Regions from separate parts of the Homo sapiens genome. Here regions 2 and 3 are each linked to region 1. The links are contacts of gene promoters, found by promoter capture Hi-C in human tissues and cell types (Jung and others, 2019). All regions are on one chromosome and are shown on one strand. The core of a region is centred on a gene start or on the middle of the fragment in contact, and the rest is flanking DNA. Distances in the headings are between cores, read along the strand shown. Region 1 holds the start of NBPF1 (NBPF member 1). Region 2 overlaps NBPF1 (NBPF member 1). Region 3 has its middle 8.8 kb from the start of RNU1-3.

Evidence for each region. Contacts are between HindIII fragments. The study calls those that stand out against the background at their distance.
Region 2: a fragment that was not itself captured here is called in contact with the fragment with the promoter of NBPF1 in region 1 in 2 of the 25 tissues and cell types used here (aorta and neural progenitor cells).
Region 3: a fragment that was not itself captured here is called in contact with the fragment with the promoter of NBPF1 in region 1 in 1 of the 25 tissues and cell types used here (psoas muscle).

What each region holds. Positions count from the first base shown.
Region 1 is chr1:16,611,014-16,615,786 of GRCh38, forward strand. NBPF1 (NBPF member 1) reads right to left here and starts at 2,551. Exons shown (of 18, transcript NM_001405701.2): 1 at 2,325-2,551. RefSeq lists an enhancer at 2,395-3,352. The HindIII fragment of the contact is 9,860 bases long and covers 1-4,773 here.
Region 2 is chr1:16,560,431-16,565,203 of GRCh38, forward strand. NBPF1 (NBPF member 1) reads right to left here. Exons shown (of 18, transcript NM_001405701.2): 17 at 4,377-4,488; 18 at 1,993-3,756. The coding sequence ends at 3,513. Among named protein-coding and RNA genes, the nearest start is that of TRG-CCC1-1, 17 kb to the left of the region's middle. RefSeq lists an enhancer at 3,846-4,723. The HindIII fragment of the contact is 4,147 bases long and covers 825-4,773 here.
Region 3 is chr1:16,655,787-16,660,559 of GRCh38, forward strand. No RefSeq gene overlaps it. Among named protein-coding and RNA genes, the nearest start is that of RNU1-3, 8.8 kb to the right of the region's middle. RefSeq lists an enhancer at 1,136-1,944. The HindIII fragment of the contact is 8,663 bases long and covers 1-4,773 here.

The DNA.
Region 1 (4,773 bases), core at 1,301-3,800:
AGACTGAGGCCCTGTCTGAAAAAAAAAAAAAGCAAAAACTAAAATAAAATCGTTATAAGGTTAACACAGAAAAATGTGTTCATACTCTTAGGTTAGGCATTGATTTCTTAAACAGGACACAAAAAACAGTAACCATAAAGGAAAAGATTAATAAAGTATAATTTCATTAAAATGAAGAATCTCAGGCTGGGTGCAGTGGCTCATGCCTGTAATCCCAACCCTTTGGGAGGCCGAGGCAGGTGTATCACTTGAGCCTAGGAATTCCAGACCAGCCTATGCAACGTGGCAAAACCCATCTCTACTAAAAATACAGAAAACAGCTGAGTGTGGTGGTACTCCCCTGTAGGTCCCAGCTACTTGGGGGCTGAGGCAGGGGGATCACCTGAGCCTTGTGAGGTCAAGGTTGCAGTGAGCTGTGATTGTGCCACTGCACTCCAGCCTGGGCGATGGAGTGAGATCCTGTCTCAAAAAGAAAAAAAAAAAAAGAGAATCTCCCTTCATGAAAAAACACCATAAAAGAGTGAAAACGCAAGCTACAGATTGAAAAAAGGGAAATGCAATACATATAAATCCTAGAAAGGAGGCATATCCAGAATAAAGTATTACAAATCAACAGGAAAACAAGCATATCAATGAAAACTGGATAAAAAGATTTAACAGGCACGTCACAAAAGAGGACATATAAATGGCAATAAAAGATACTCAATCTCAATGAAACCACACTGATATATTACTGCACCCCTACTAGAATGGCAAAATAATTTTTAACTGACAGGTATCAGCGAAGATGTGGGGTAACCAGCATATCCCTGCTAAATGGTACAACTACTTTGGGAAAATGTTCAACAATATGTAATACTAAAGTTTTATCATTCATATACCTCTAAAACCAACAATGCCACCCCTACAAATATACCCCAGACTAGTAATGTTCAATTTCTTGATCTGTGGTGGTTCACTTGGTAAAAATTCATTACTTTTTTTTTTTTTTTTTTGAGACAGGGTCTCACTCTGCCATCCAGGTCGGAGTGCACTGCCATGATCACGGCTCACTGCAATCTCAACCTCCCGGGCTCTGGTGATCCTCCCAACTCAGCCTACCGGGTAGCTGGGACTACAGGCACACGCCACCACACACAGCTAACTTCTGTATTTTTAGTAGAGAAAGGGTTTTGCCACATTGCCCAGGCTGGTCTGGAAATCCTGGGCTCAAGTGATCTACCCACCTTGGCGTCCCAAAGTGCTGGGATTACAGGTGTGATCACTGCGCCCGGGCCACCTGCACATGTAAAATTGTGAACTTCTGTATACTTCAGTAACTTTTCCAAGATTTCTTTGACGCAAAGTTCTCAGAAATCTTAAAGCTAGCATTTCAGAATAGAAAAAGTAGCTTCTGGTTCACTAGTGAAATTTTACCAATAGAATTTAAAAACAAAAAGCTACTAACGCATATCAGCTCAGAACACTACCAGCAGATCTTTTCTTTAACTTCCTGAAGCACTGGGATTCATTCTTTTGGCAAAGAAAGGATGAACAACACTGTAACCCAAAGAAAAGATACCACTGCCAGAAAAGACTTCTTTTCGAAAGCAGCTCTAAGCAAAAGATAGGAGGAAAACAAGGAAGCCAGGCCAAACGTCTTGGTTAACTCTCCGCTGAAAGGACGCCACATGAGATGATCTAAGAAGCCAGCCAGCCAGCCAGACGCAGGGAAATCACAGCAACTCTTTGGAGTGCAAACAGCAACCCCACAATCCAATCTACCCGAAATCCTGCGGTTCATTTGAGGCTTGCCCCGCTAGTCAGGAGGTGATTCAGTGATGGCTACAAATGCTGCTCATGTGCATCCTGGAGCTGGCACACCTGGCTTGCCCATCACCAGCCTGGAGACACCGCCAGGAGCAGAAGCCCGGAGGCCAGTAAAGACCCCAACTTTGCAAGTCAGGGGCGCGAGCGCGCTCGCCTCTCAGGTCCGCAGAGGGAACGGATTTCTGGCCTGGAGGGTGGGGTGCGGGGTCAGTGTCCTCTACAGGATATAGGAGGACGTGCCCCCGAAGCTGCTCCGTCCCTCCACCCCCTGGGATGCCACAGAACACCCGCCAGCGAGTTTCTTCCCCAGCGCCCACGAGAGTTGGGCTGCGGGCGGCAGCGGCAGGCGAAGAATCCAGCGCGGGGAACTCAGGCCCCGGCGGTGCACGACCCCCCACAGCCCCCACCCGCCCCCGCGCTCGCGCAACAAAACTTGCCACGGCCGCGCCTCGACCCAGCTGTGCGCCCGCGGGTCCCGGATTCACCGCCCGCCCAGCCTGGCGCGGCGCCCTCACCTCAGAAACGCTGGGTGGACTTCGCGTAACTTCCCATTCACAGGGCAGCCGGCAGCCGCGCCGCCGCGCCTCGGCCCAGCTCCTGGCGCCGCAGATCGCCCGTCCCGCGTTCCCAAAAGCACCGCGCTCGCTCAGAAGCTCGGGCAGCCTCGCGACCCTCACCTACGCCTCCCAGTACCGCCGCTGTCTCAACCGCCACCCAGCCCCTCGCCTGCGCCTGCGCCTGCAGCCCACTGGCTCCTCAGGATCCCGATGGGCGTGTCAGGATAACCCAAGGCGCAGGCGCGGCGGGGCCTTAAAGGGACCCGGCGGCCTCTTCTGCACAACGGGTTCGAGCAGGTTAGGGGCCGCGCAGGCGGAGGAAAGGAGTAACCCAGGGGAAGGACCGAGTGCAGCGGGGACGGGGAAATCCCTCTCTCCCCTCCGCCTGTCTTTCAAAGCACCAGCCCTCGACCCTCCAAATCGCTGGTTTCCCCGGCCACTTGAACAGCCCCTGCCAGGTTGAAGAGGCAGGAGACACACCCCCTCTGGGGCTGGAGCGACCCCGCGCTTAGGACTGCAGGCCTCGCGCTGCCGCACCGCCCCGAATCTGACTTCCAGGCACGGGCACGCGGTGCAGTCGGGCAGGCTTCAGAAGAGCCCCCAGCTCTCCCAGAGGTGGCCTTAGGTCACTCTCAAAAAGAATAACCAATGTGTCAATGGCACTTGTAGTTATTTTCTAATTTAAATTTATTAACAGATTTTGCAGATGGGCTTCCACTGAAATAAGCCTTTGAGAAAAAGAAAAACTTTTTTTTTCAACAGGATTAGAATACCAAGAAATAGGAAGTAAAGCCATGCCGTCCACCCAGCTAAAAACTTTGAAAACTTGATATTTTATCTAAGGCAAATGTTTGCATAACTTTAGGTCATGCCATTATTTAAAGTCAATTTCAGTTAACAATTTCATTGCAACTGAATCTATCTTGTATAAGAAAACTAAGATACATCCCTGATAATCTACCTCTCCCCTCCTATACTCCATCCGTCAGCAAATCCTACTGGTTTTTACCTTCCAAATTTTCCTTGAATCTGTCCTCTTCTATCTCCTCCGTCACCACCCTAGTCTAGGCTGCCTTCACCTGGGGAGTGAGGGTCGAGGGACTACTGACCTAGTCTTCTTGTGGTTTACCCATATCCCCTTTATCGCCTCTCTAATCTCAACACAACAGGCAGAGTGGCTTTTCCAAAATATAATGTGACCGTGTCACTTCCCAGCCTAAAGCACTTAAACACCTTCCCATTCTCTTAGACAAAACCTCCTAACTAACCAAGCCCCGAATGGCCAGGCGCCTTGCCCACTTCTTCATCTCTTCTCACTACTCAGACCAATTCTGTTCTGCTCTCTCTGCTCCAGCCAAACTGGCCTCTTTTATTCCCTATTTACCAGCTTCCTGGCCTCCACAGAGCTTTTGCTCATGCTTTGCTCTGTGCCTGGAAAGTTCTTCTAACCCCTATTCTTCTGAGAACAGCTGTAGTCTCCACCTCTGAAAAGCACCTTCTGACCTCCCTATGGTGGTCCCTTACTCCTATCACATTGCATGAAACTGTAATCGGGTGGTTATTTTGGTGAATTTTTTACTATCGGCTACGTAAGCCCAGGGTTTGGTTTTGTTTGCTTCATGATTTGTATTTCCACATTTGTTAAATACATATTTGTTCATAAATGAGAATGATGGATGCTAGAAGTTGAAGTAAATTTGGCATAAAGTCAGAGAAAGAGAAAATGTCACAATCTGACAGTTGGAGTCAGAATGTAGAAACTTCAGTTATATTAAAACTGATTTTATATCGTTTTAGGCTGAGTTGTCTTAGGATGCTTTGGGTAACCTTTAAAACTGAGTTCTCAAAGAGCCTTGTATAAACACCTGAATTAATAATGATAAGCCATGGGGTGGCCCACATAAAACTAATAACATTGGTTGCTTTAAGAGAGGAAGACTGAGCCAGGCACAGTGGCTCATACCTGTAATCCAAGCACTTTGGGAGGCCAAGGCCCGCAGATCATTTGAGCTCAGGAGTTTGAGACTAACCTGGGCAACTTGGTGAGACCCTGTCTCTACATAAAATACAAGCAAAATTAGCCAGGCGTGGTGGCGGGCACCTGTACTCCCAGCTATTTGGGAGGCTGAGGTGGGAGGATTGCTTGAGCTCAGGAGGTTGAGGCTGCAGTGAGCCATGATCATGCCACTGCATTCCAGCCTGGATGACAGAGCAAGATCTTGTCTCAAAGAGAGAGAGAGAGAGAGAGAGAAATGAAGACTGGTGACTGGTGGCTACTGGTGGGAAGGAGATTTTTACTAAATGCCCAAAAGGTTTAAAATTGTAACTTTTTTATTTCAAAGTCTGTGAAGATAAATGACACAAAAGAGCACATACCTTCCCATTTATTTGAAATTCTAGAAAGGGG
Region 2 (4,773 bases), core at 1,648-4,147, 50 kb before region 1:
AATATAAACTATAAAAGTAGAAAAAGTATAGCAGGAAATATAAGACAAAATCTTCACGACGCAGTTAGGCAAAGTGTTCTTTGTTATCAAGAAACACAAACCATTAAAGAAAACATTGATAAATTCAACTTTATAAAAAGTAAAAGTTTTTGCTCAACACGAGACAGTATTAAGAGAACAAATATAAGCTGCAGATTGGGAGAAAAACAGGGGAAATGACAAATGTGACAAAGGACAAGTGTGATAGTTACTTGCACGTGTCACTGTGACTGAGCACCAGGGTGCCGGGACATTCGGCCAAATGTGATTCTGGTTGTGTTCCAGAGAGTGTTTCACATATGATTAACATCGGGATGGGCAGACTAAGTGAAGCAGATTGCCCCCCTTAACGGGGGTGGGACTCATGCAATCAATCAAAGGTCAGGAGAGAATTAAGAGGCCTAATGGGAAACAAATGCTTTCCTGGGTATCCAGCTTTCCTTCCATCTTGGGAATTTCAGCCTCCATAATCTCAGAAACAAATTCACATATGTATACACACACATATACATTTCATAGGTATGTGGCTAAGATTGTATTTTTAAAAGTTCAGCCATGAGATGATTGGTGAAGCCAGCCAATGAATAAGGGTGTGTTCTATTATATGACTCAGTCTTCTTTTGTACACGATTGAAGTTCTGCATTTGAAGTAGGAGGACAGGAGAGAGCAAGTCCACCTAGGATGATAACAGCTGAATTTCTCAACAGACACTTCAAAGCCCTAGGCGTTAACTTAGAGAGTCAAAAATCCCACCCATAACCCTGCCCCTAAACGCCAGGGCTAGGGAACACTGTGGCCCTCAGGTGATTTTGTTTCACTTGGTCTGGGAGCCACACAAGGGCAGAGGGAGCAGGAAACACTAAGCAAATCGAGGCCAGGACAGCAGGGAGGGCCTGTTCATGACAGAACACAGGTAAAACTATCCTCAGAAAGAGCATGTGGAGAAACACAGATCATGCCTGAGACCTGGTGGATTAGAGCACTGGCTACTGGGGAATTGAAAGGAAGGGGCTTCACCATGCAGAGGACCAGAGGTGCCAGTCTTGGAAACGCAGAATTGCTGGGAGATGGGGAGGCATGGACAAAGGAAGCATCCTCTGGAGACTCATGGTGAAGAGAACAAATGAAGTAACTGGCAGAAATTATAGGTCCTGGTAGAACAAAATAGAATCCCACAATGAGAACATACAGCATGTATGTCCCGCAAGGAAGACAATAGCTCCTAAAAATGCAAGAAAAATCATTTTGGGCAAACACCTTATATCCAGTAATGCGATCCATGTATCAAGACCACGAGGAAGATTATTAAACATGCTAAACTCAGCGAGACCTGATTCCCTCATGAGGACTCTGTTAAGGATGAGTACCACTCAGCAAGTGATGACTGTGACATTCACTTTTGAACAGCTCATGAGCATTAATATATTTAATTGTGGATCTAAACCAAAAACCAAGGTGTGGGCAAGATGACAACCACAGAATGTCACTGGCATATGTTTAGGTTCAAATACCATTATGAGAAGTGGCAGGTAAAGGAGGTAGGAAAAAGAAAACACATCATGTAACTGACTGTCATATGGAAATATTTGACGTTGAAAGTCATAATTTAAAATGTATAAACCAAATATTAGAAGTGTGTCTAGTTCAAAGGGGGGAAAACTATGAAACATTTTTAATCAATATCAAACATGAGCTACACAACCCTTCCTAAATGCCAGAGGCACACACAGACACACACACACACACTCTCACAAAGAATATAAATATCTAGAACCAAGAAATGGAGTAAATGCATTCTGCTACATATGGTAAACATAGCCTACAAGGTGGAAGAGATTAGAAAATAAACAGGGAAATGGAAATGTTTTTATTAATTCACATCAGTACCCACCAAAACCAATCAGCATAACAAAAGATTATAACACTGAATGTAAAAAACAATCCAACAGTCCAGAGTGATAGGCAAAAGCTTTTAATTGTATAGATTAAAATAACTTTGGACAAAAATTAAAACTCAGGCAGAGAATGTTTTTTTTTTCAACAACACACACTAGCAAAAACAAAGGCACAGTAAACATTGAGGCAGAAAGTTTCCAGCGTAGAGATATGAATATAATAATAGACACAGGCAGGGATGATTAATAAATGATAAAATGTTTACAGGATGATCATTGGAATACAGGACATTTCTAATTTTGAAAACCACCCTCCCAAATACTTCATTATAAGTAAGGTGTCTCTAAAAGGGACAGATCTCCTAGACCCCTCCTTAACCAAGTAACCAGTCCTGATATCATGATAATGCTGATGGACAAACTAGACCTTCTCTGCCCGCAGATGGGCTAAGGTTGGAAACTCACAGCATTGTCTCTGCAGTGTTCCCGGCAAAACGTTTAGGCTGAATTTAATCATGAAGACATTTTCAGACAACTTCAGAATGTAGATCATTGAGCCAGAGAGCTGACCTGTCCTCTATAAACAAGTCCATGTCACCACCATCAATGACAACAACAAAAAGATGAGGAAATATTTGGGGTTCAAAATAACTAAAGAAATGCAGCTATATTATCTTTTTACTTTTTTTGAACCCAAAATATCTCTTCTCCTTTTTGTTGTGTGATTTGTGGTGATATGGACTATGTGAAGGAGACAGGTCAGTTGTCCTGCTCAGTGTTCTACATTCTGCAGTTGTCTGGTAATTACCTCCTATGAAACTCAGGCTAAGCGTTTTCTGCAAGAACATGGCGTTGTTCATATTCTGCACCGGCAGAGTCCTGGGTGACATGCTGTCTCCTGCCAGCGGCTCCTGACTCCTGTTCTCTACAGGATGGAATCGAGAGGAGCAGGGCTAAGGCCTCCCAATGCTGTTTGTCCATCTAGCTGTGGTCTTCCTAAGTACTGACACCAATTGGAGGCTGAAGGACTGTGGCTTCTCTAACCAAAGGAGCCTAGCGGGTTAACAATTGTCAAGAGCAGTTGGTGGTTCTGAAATACAATCCTCAGCCAAGGATCCCTCCTGTGTTAAAGATGGATCAGCTAAAACAATTCAACACTGAAGATACAAAGAATGAGGTTAGGTTCATTGAAACCAGGGTAACACCTTTGGATGAGCTAAACACAAAGATGACACTGACCTTGAGCAGGTATAGAAGCTCAGAGACATGACTGCAAAATGAAATCCCTGAGGAACTTTGTAGCTACCCAGAGATAAGTGGTTCAAATTAAAATGTCTGACTGATCACTCCCGGCATGTGCTGCACAGTTATGTGAACGTGTCACACCTAACTTGGGTCCATTGTCTTCAGACTGAGCACAGGGTGCCACTGGCATGGTCTGAGAATAGGAATAGAGCCATGCCCACTGACCCATCCTATGTCTGGGCTTCCAAATGGAACTATAGTTTCATTCAAATCTTCACGTGCCTATAGGTCCTGCCTGCAGGAATGACATCTCTCGGCTTAGTAAGGGCTGCTTACTGTGGGAATATGACTCCCATCTGGAAGACCAGGTGGAGACTTGTTCCCATCAAAGTAAGAAACCTATTGTCCACGTCAAGGGCGAAGCTGATGTGCTGTTCCTCAAATGAGTAAAACACACTTCTGTAGTGCTGGAATGAGTCAGGTAGTTCAAAGTACATTGACGGAGTCGAATAACATCTATCCAGTGAGTCCTGCAAGACTTCAGGCTCTTCCACTTCCATCAGCATGCCGCTGAGCCTGGAAAAGCAGACAAAACTAAAGAAGCAGCCAGGGAAAATCAGACACCACAGAGCCCCACTAGATTTCAGAAGTAACGTAAGGAAGTGGTAAGAAAAGAAAAGGATAGATCCATTAGATCCATTAATGAGGTAAAAAAAAAAAATTATTGCCTTTATGTTGGGATAGAAAAGGGCCAGGTAGAAAACAATGAAAGAGAAAGACAGAGAGACAGAGACAGAGACAGAGACAGAGAGAAAGTGAGCTAGTGAATTGGCCAGGTGACATACTGGTAAGGGAGTAAAAGGACACTCTGAGTTAGTGCCCTCATGACACACAGCACACTGCGATCATGAAAAGAGTGAGCTCAATAGTTTTCCATAAAATATGCTCAAAATTCGATGCAGTGGCCATGAGAGTACAGCTTTTGAAGTATGGTCATCCTATGGTACGTTAGTAAATGATAAGGGGAGGAAGAAATGGAAACCTAAACATCTACTGCAATGAAAACCAACAGCAATGACAGTAGGAGTAATTCAGCCTTCGTTGAAAACATGAAATCAAACACACTCTGGTTTCCCTCAATCTGTTGCCTCCAGGTGTTAACACAGAATTAAGCATCCACAATTGCTGAAAGTTACCTGGGGCATGGTGGGTTTTGATCTTCTTCCCCTTCTTTTCTTCCCCTTCTCCTTCTTTTCTTCGTTGATCTTCTTCCCCTTCTTTTCTTCCCCTTCCCCTTCTTTTCAATTTCTGCAATAAATTCAGACATGGACAGACACATTAAGCTGATTCCCCTACACACATAACAATCCACTGTCTAACCCTCACACAGGGACCTCAGGCTCCTCAGCATAAGAATAGGAGACTGTGAGAGATATATTTCAGGAGGCCTGAAGGCTGGTCATGATAGAAATTCCTCGGTTTTTCTCCCAGAAACTGTGGGTAAAATGTCCCTATTCTAGTAGATCGTTATCCCAATATCATTTGTCCCGAGTTTGTGCAAACAGTTATGCCATATTTTTCCAATCAATTTAA
Region 3 (4,773 bases), core at 1,398-3,897, 45 kb after region 1:
CTTCACGTTATTCTTTGCTACTTAAATAAGCTTGCTTTCATAGTTCAATTGACGTATTGTTTAACTGATATTTTTAATTGGTATATTTTGATATATATTGATAATTGATAGATACATAATTCATTTGAGATATTTTGGGTATGGAGGGTTGGAAGGAATCCTTTCATAATTTTTCTACTTAAAAGAAATCTTTTTTCATTTAACAGCTTTTCCCATGGGGATAGAGTTTTCATGAATAAAGCAAAGTCATTAAATGAGGTATATGGTACATCTTTTAAGAGTCACAGAAAGAAGCAACAACAATTTACCCAGGCAGAGGGTATAAGTTTAGACCTTGGTTGCCTGATTTGTGGGACAAGTTCTTTAATTTTTTTTCTTTATATTTTGACTTTTTTTTGGACTCTCTCCTCCCCTTCCAGGCTCCAGGTCAAATACTTGACACCTGAATGATGTTCAATTATTTAAAAGATGGATTGGCCAGCTCAGCTCCTGTCTCAGACAGACTGTCTTTAAATGTATTTTCAACATGTCTTCAGACAGTTATTTTTCCTCTGTTCAATTTTGTTCATCTTCTTACTTAACCGTTCAAGTGCTCCTATTTCCTTTTTAAATGTAGTATTGAGAAGTGCAAACATTATTGGAAAAGAGAGTCTCACTAGCATAATTGTGCATTATCTTCCTCTTATATCGCCGGCCTCCCTGCACCCCCATGCCCACCTCCTCCTCGCGCCTCCATGCCGCCTCCCACTGCTCCAGCTCCTTGCAGCTGCGAGTCCAGTCACTGGTCACCTTTCGTATCTCCTCACTCAGAGCCTGGTTGGCCAAACCTGCCTGGTCCAGCTGTTCTCAGAGCATGGCATTCACCTGGGCCAGGCTGGCACTCCTGAATGGGGCACAGGGGATCAGTAGGCGCTCGCCCAGGGGGCCATGCTGCCAGCCCTGGCCCTCCCTGCTGCTCCTCCTCCAGCCAGATGAGGGCACTCTCCAGGTCTTGGCTGTGCTCTGCGTCCTGGGTGGCACAGAGGTTAAAGCATCAGGCTGGGCAGGTGGAGGGCAGGGCCTGCCTCTGCCCCACCCTGGCACCCACCCTCAGCTGCTGCTGCTCCAGCTCTCCGGATCTCTCCAACAGCTGCTCCAGCTCCGAGAACCTCTTCTTGTACTGGAGAATCTGGGGATTGGGAGCTGATGGTGAGCCCCAGGGGTGGGGGCAGGGCAAAGTGAACACGTGGGAGGGAAAGAGCAGGAATGGGTGGCCCTGACCTTGCCCTGCAGCCGCTGCACAAGCTGGGCCTGCCGCTGCTGGCCCTCCAGGTAGGCCTGCAGCTTGCGCCACTAGGAGGCCTGCTCCTCCTGCAGCTGCCTCCGCAACTCCACGCTCTGGAGTACCAGCCCCCTGGGCTCTTGCGTCTCCAGCTCACCAGATTGCAGCCACAGAGCCTGCTCCAGCTGCAGGGAAGGGCCCTGGGTGAGAGTCCTGGGCCTCCTGGGAAGGCAGGCTCAGGCCTCTGTAGGGGGTGGCAGGCTGGGCCCAGACCCACAATGCCTTGTAGGCTGATAGCCTGGCGCCCTGGGGAGCAGCACATGTGGGCAAGCCCAGGGGCAGTGCACGTGTGCATGGGGTGATGCAGCCATGCACGGGCACGCAGATGGGGCATGCATGGACACATGCAGGTGAGCCCACAAACCCAAACCATGCAGGCAAAGCTCAAAGGTGCACCTGGGGTCTACGTCAGGGGCCTCAGTACACCATGCGCCTCTCCTCCAGAACACTTAGCCCTGTCGTGGTTTCTGTTTATTACATTGATGCCTGTGTCTTCCCACCATGCCCCCACCCCAGTGTGAGCTCAGAAAGCCTGGATTTTTTGTTCCTCATTGTATCTTAGTGCTATAATGGTGTCTGTGGAATGGCATGGCTCACGCTCAGTAAATATTTCTTGTGATGGTGAATTAATGGCATGAGCTCATGGGAATACATTCAAACAGAGGTGTCAATCCGCCTATGCATATCTGAGCTTAAAAATATGCACACACATAACACATACAGGCAACCTCAAACATCCCCAGGGGGACACGAAGGACTCCCCTCATATACACAGCATTAAGATTTGTAAGAGGTGCACACAGATGTTGCCCTATACGGCGCCTGCATATTAATGCCCACTTCTGGCTGGGTGCAGTGGCTCATGCCTGTAATCCCAGCACTTTGGGAGGTCAAGGCGGGTGGATCACTTGAAGTCAGGGGTTCGAGACCAGCCTGGCCAACGTGATGAAATCCCGTCTCTACTAAAAATCGAAAAATTAGCCGGGTGTGGTGGCATGCACCTGTAATCCCAGTTACTCAGGAGGCTGAGGCAGGAGAATCACTTGAACCTGGGAGGCAGAGGTTGAAGTGAGCCGAGATCGCACCACTGCACTCCACCCTGGGCGACAGAGCAAGACTCCATCTTTTATTTATTTATTTATTTATGTATTCATTTATTTGTCTCATGGGCTGAGCGAGGGGACCCCGGCTGGTGGAGGGACAGCTGCGCCCTGCAGGCCGCTGCGTCCGGGCAGACCCCGGCCTCTTGTCGTGCCCCCGGCCCGCGACAACCCGGGCAGGATGGGCAGCAGGACGCGGCGGGGCATCCGCGGAGCCCGTCGGGAACGCTCTCTTGGCCTCCGGTGCCGGGCAGCGGTGGGTGCGGCACCCACAGTGCCCACAGCGCCCCCAGCCCTGGGACGTGGCTCCAGCCCGCCCCCAGGCAGGCGGCCTCCTTCGCCGGGAGCACGTCGCCTGGGCAACATGGAGAAACTTCAACTCTTAAAAAAACAAGACAGCCACCACAACAACAAAAAGAACAGATATAAGCCGGCTGTGGTGACTCGTGCCTCTGCTACTCCAGAGGCTGAGGTGGGAGGATCGATTCAACCAAGATACAGTGAGACTGTCTCTCAGAGAAAAAGTCAAACAAACAAAAAAAGAGGCTGTGTAAGAGGTGACTCTGGGGACAGTGGAAAAACACTAAGGTTTTCAAGTGGTGTTAAAAGCCACTAGGCCTTGGGGACCATTGAGCAATCTACAAAGCACGGAAGCCTAGATCCCTGAGCTCTGCCTGCCAAGTACCACCACAGCTAACATGGGAGACCTCCCCGACAGAGACTGAAATTTGCCTCCCGAGGAAACAAGTGACTACAGACATCTGTCCCAGGACAGTAAACAAGAAAGCAAGGTCTCACAAAAACAAAAACAGCTGACCACAGCATACAATCACTGAGACCGAGCCTGCGACTATAGGTGAAAAAAAAAAATGCTGTCCATTATTCATACCATGAAAGACCAGGGGAAAGTGGGAACGCAGTCCCCTACTACTGTTGTGGGAATCAGGAGAACAGAGAGACCAATGGGTGGAACAGGAGGATTTATTGACTGCACTGAGGCCCAGCAGATGAAAATCCAAAGGCTGAGCCCCGAACAAAGACAGGGCTTAACTTTATAGACACTTCTGAAAGGGGGTCGGCTAGTTTGAATGGCGCGGCGGGAATTTGATGGCATGAAACTCGGGGGCAGGCAAGAGGGCTTATAGAAGCAGAACAAAGGCAGCTAATCAAACTGTCACAGGTCTTGCAATGCAAGTATAGCTGGTGACCTTGCAGCTGCACTGAAGGGAAATCAAGAACTTAACAAAACTTGAATAATTAGAAATGGGAAGGGGGAAAGAGAAGGTAGTAAAGGCATTTGTTGTTTTTTCCTCTTATCTTTGTTGGGGCTTACTGTGTTGAGAGAGTCTCCGGAACTCACTCCTCGCGGCTCTGACTTTTCAGATCGTGTTACCGAGGATCTACTAGGGCTCTATCTATGGCAGGTCTTGGAGTCAGCCAAGTACAGGGAACCTGTCTTTTCCTTTTAACTTCTGCCTTATTACTACAAGTTGTACAGCACACCATGCCTGGTTTTCATCAGCAATGTTTCCTGAGGTTACAGAAAGATTTCTAATCCTGGGAGGAAACACTCCCTTGAAGCAAAAGTGTTCTCCCCCAAAAAATGCAAGGAGCTATCTTCTAGATAGCCAGGCAGATAATTCTCAGGTTTTGCCCCACAGAATCTCTATCTAAAATACAGCAGTGGTCATGCCTAGTGAAAAGTTTGAGGGAACTCGCCCAGTGTTGGGTTTCTTCAGAGCCATATATATAGATATAACCAAATATCCTAAAAGACACTGCCCTTCATCATTCCATGCTGTTAGACATTTACAGGACCATGGATGGTGATCTCCTCCAGACAAAAATAAATGCTGGTGCAGAATAGGTAAGTGTATTATAATTTGAGGACATCAGCTTTTGGGCATTTTAAACCATGGGTCAGACATGTTAGAGCAAGAGGCCAGGTTGATAGCAAGAGGGAGTGTTTTTCTTTTAATTTGTCAATAGCAAAGTGATGTTTGCCACTGTGATTTCAGAGTGAGGTGGCAATTTGTTGTTGTTTGGTTTTGTGGGTTTTTGTTTGTTTGTTTGTTTGTTTGTTTTTGAGACAAGGTCTCACTGTCACCCAGGCTGGAGTGCAGTGGCATGATCAGGGTTTACTCCTGCCTTGACCTCATGAATTCAAGCAAACCTCCTTACTAATCCTCCCGAGTAGCTGGGATTACAGGCACGTGACCCCACACCCTGGGGTGTGAACTGGGATTTGATGTTTTCAGTTGGCTCTCTAATGGAATAGGTTCCCTTACTCTTGTAGAATCAGATTGTCTTCATGATTATCATTCTTGTGTGCATTATATTTCTACTACCCTG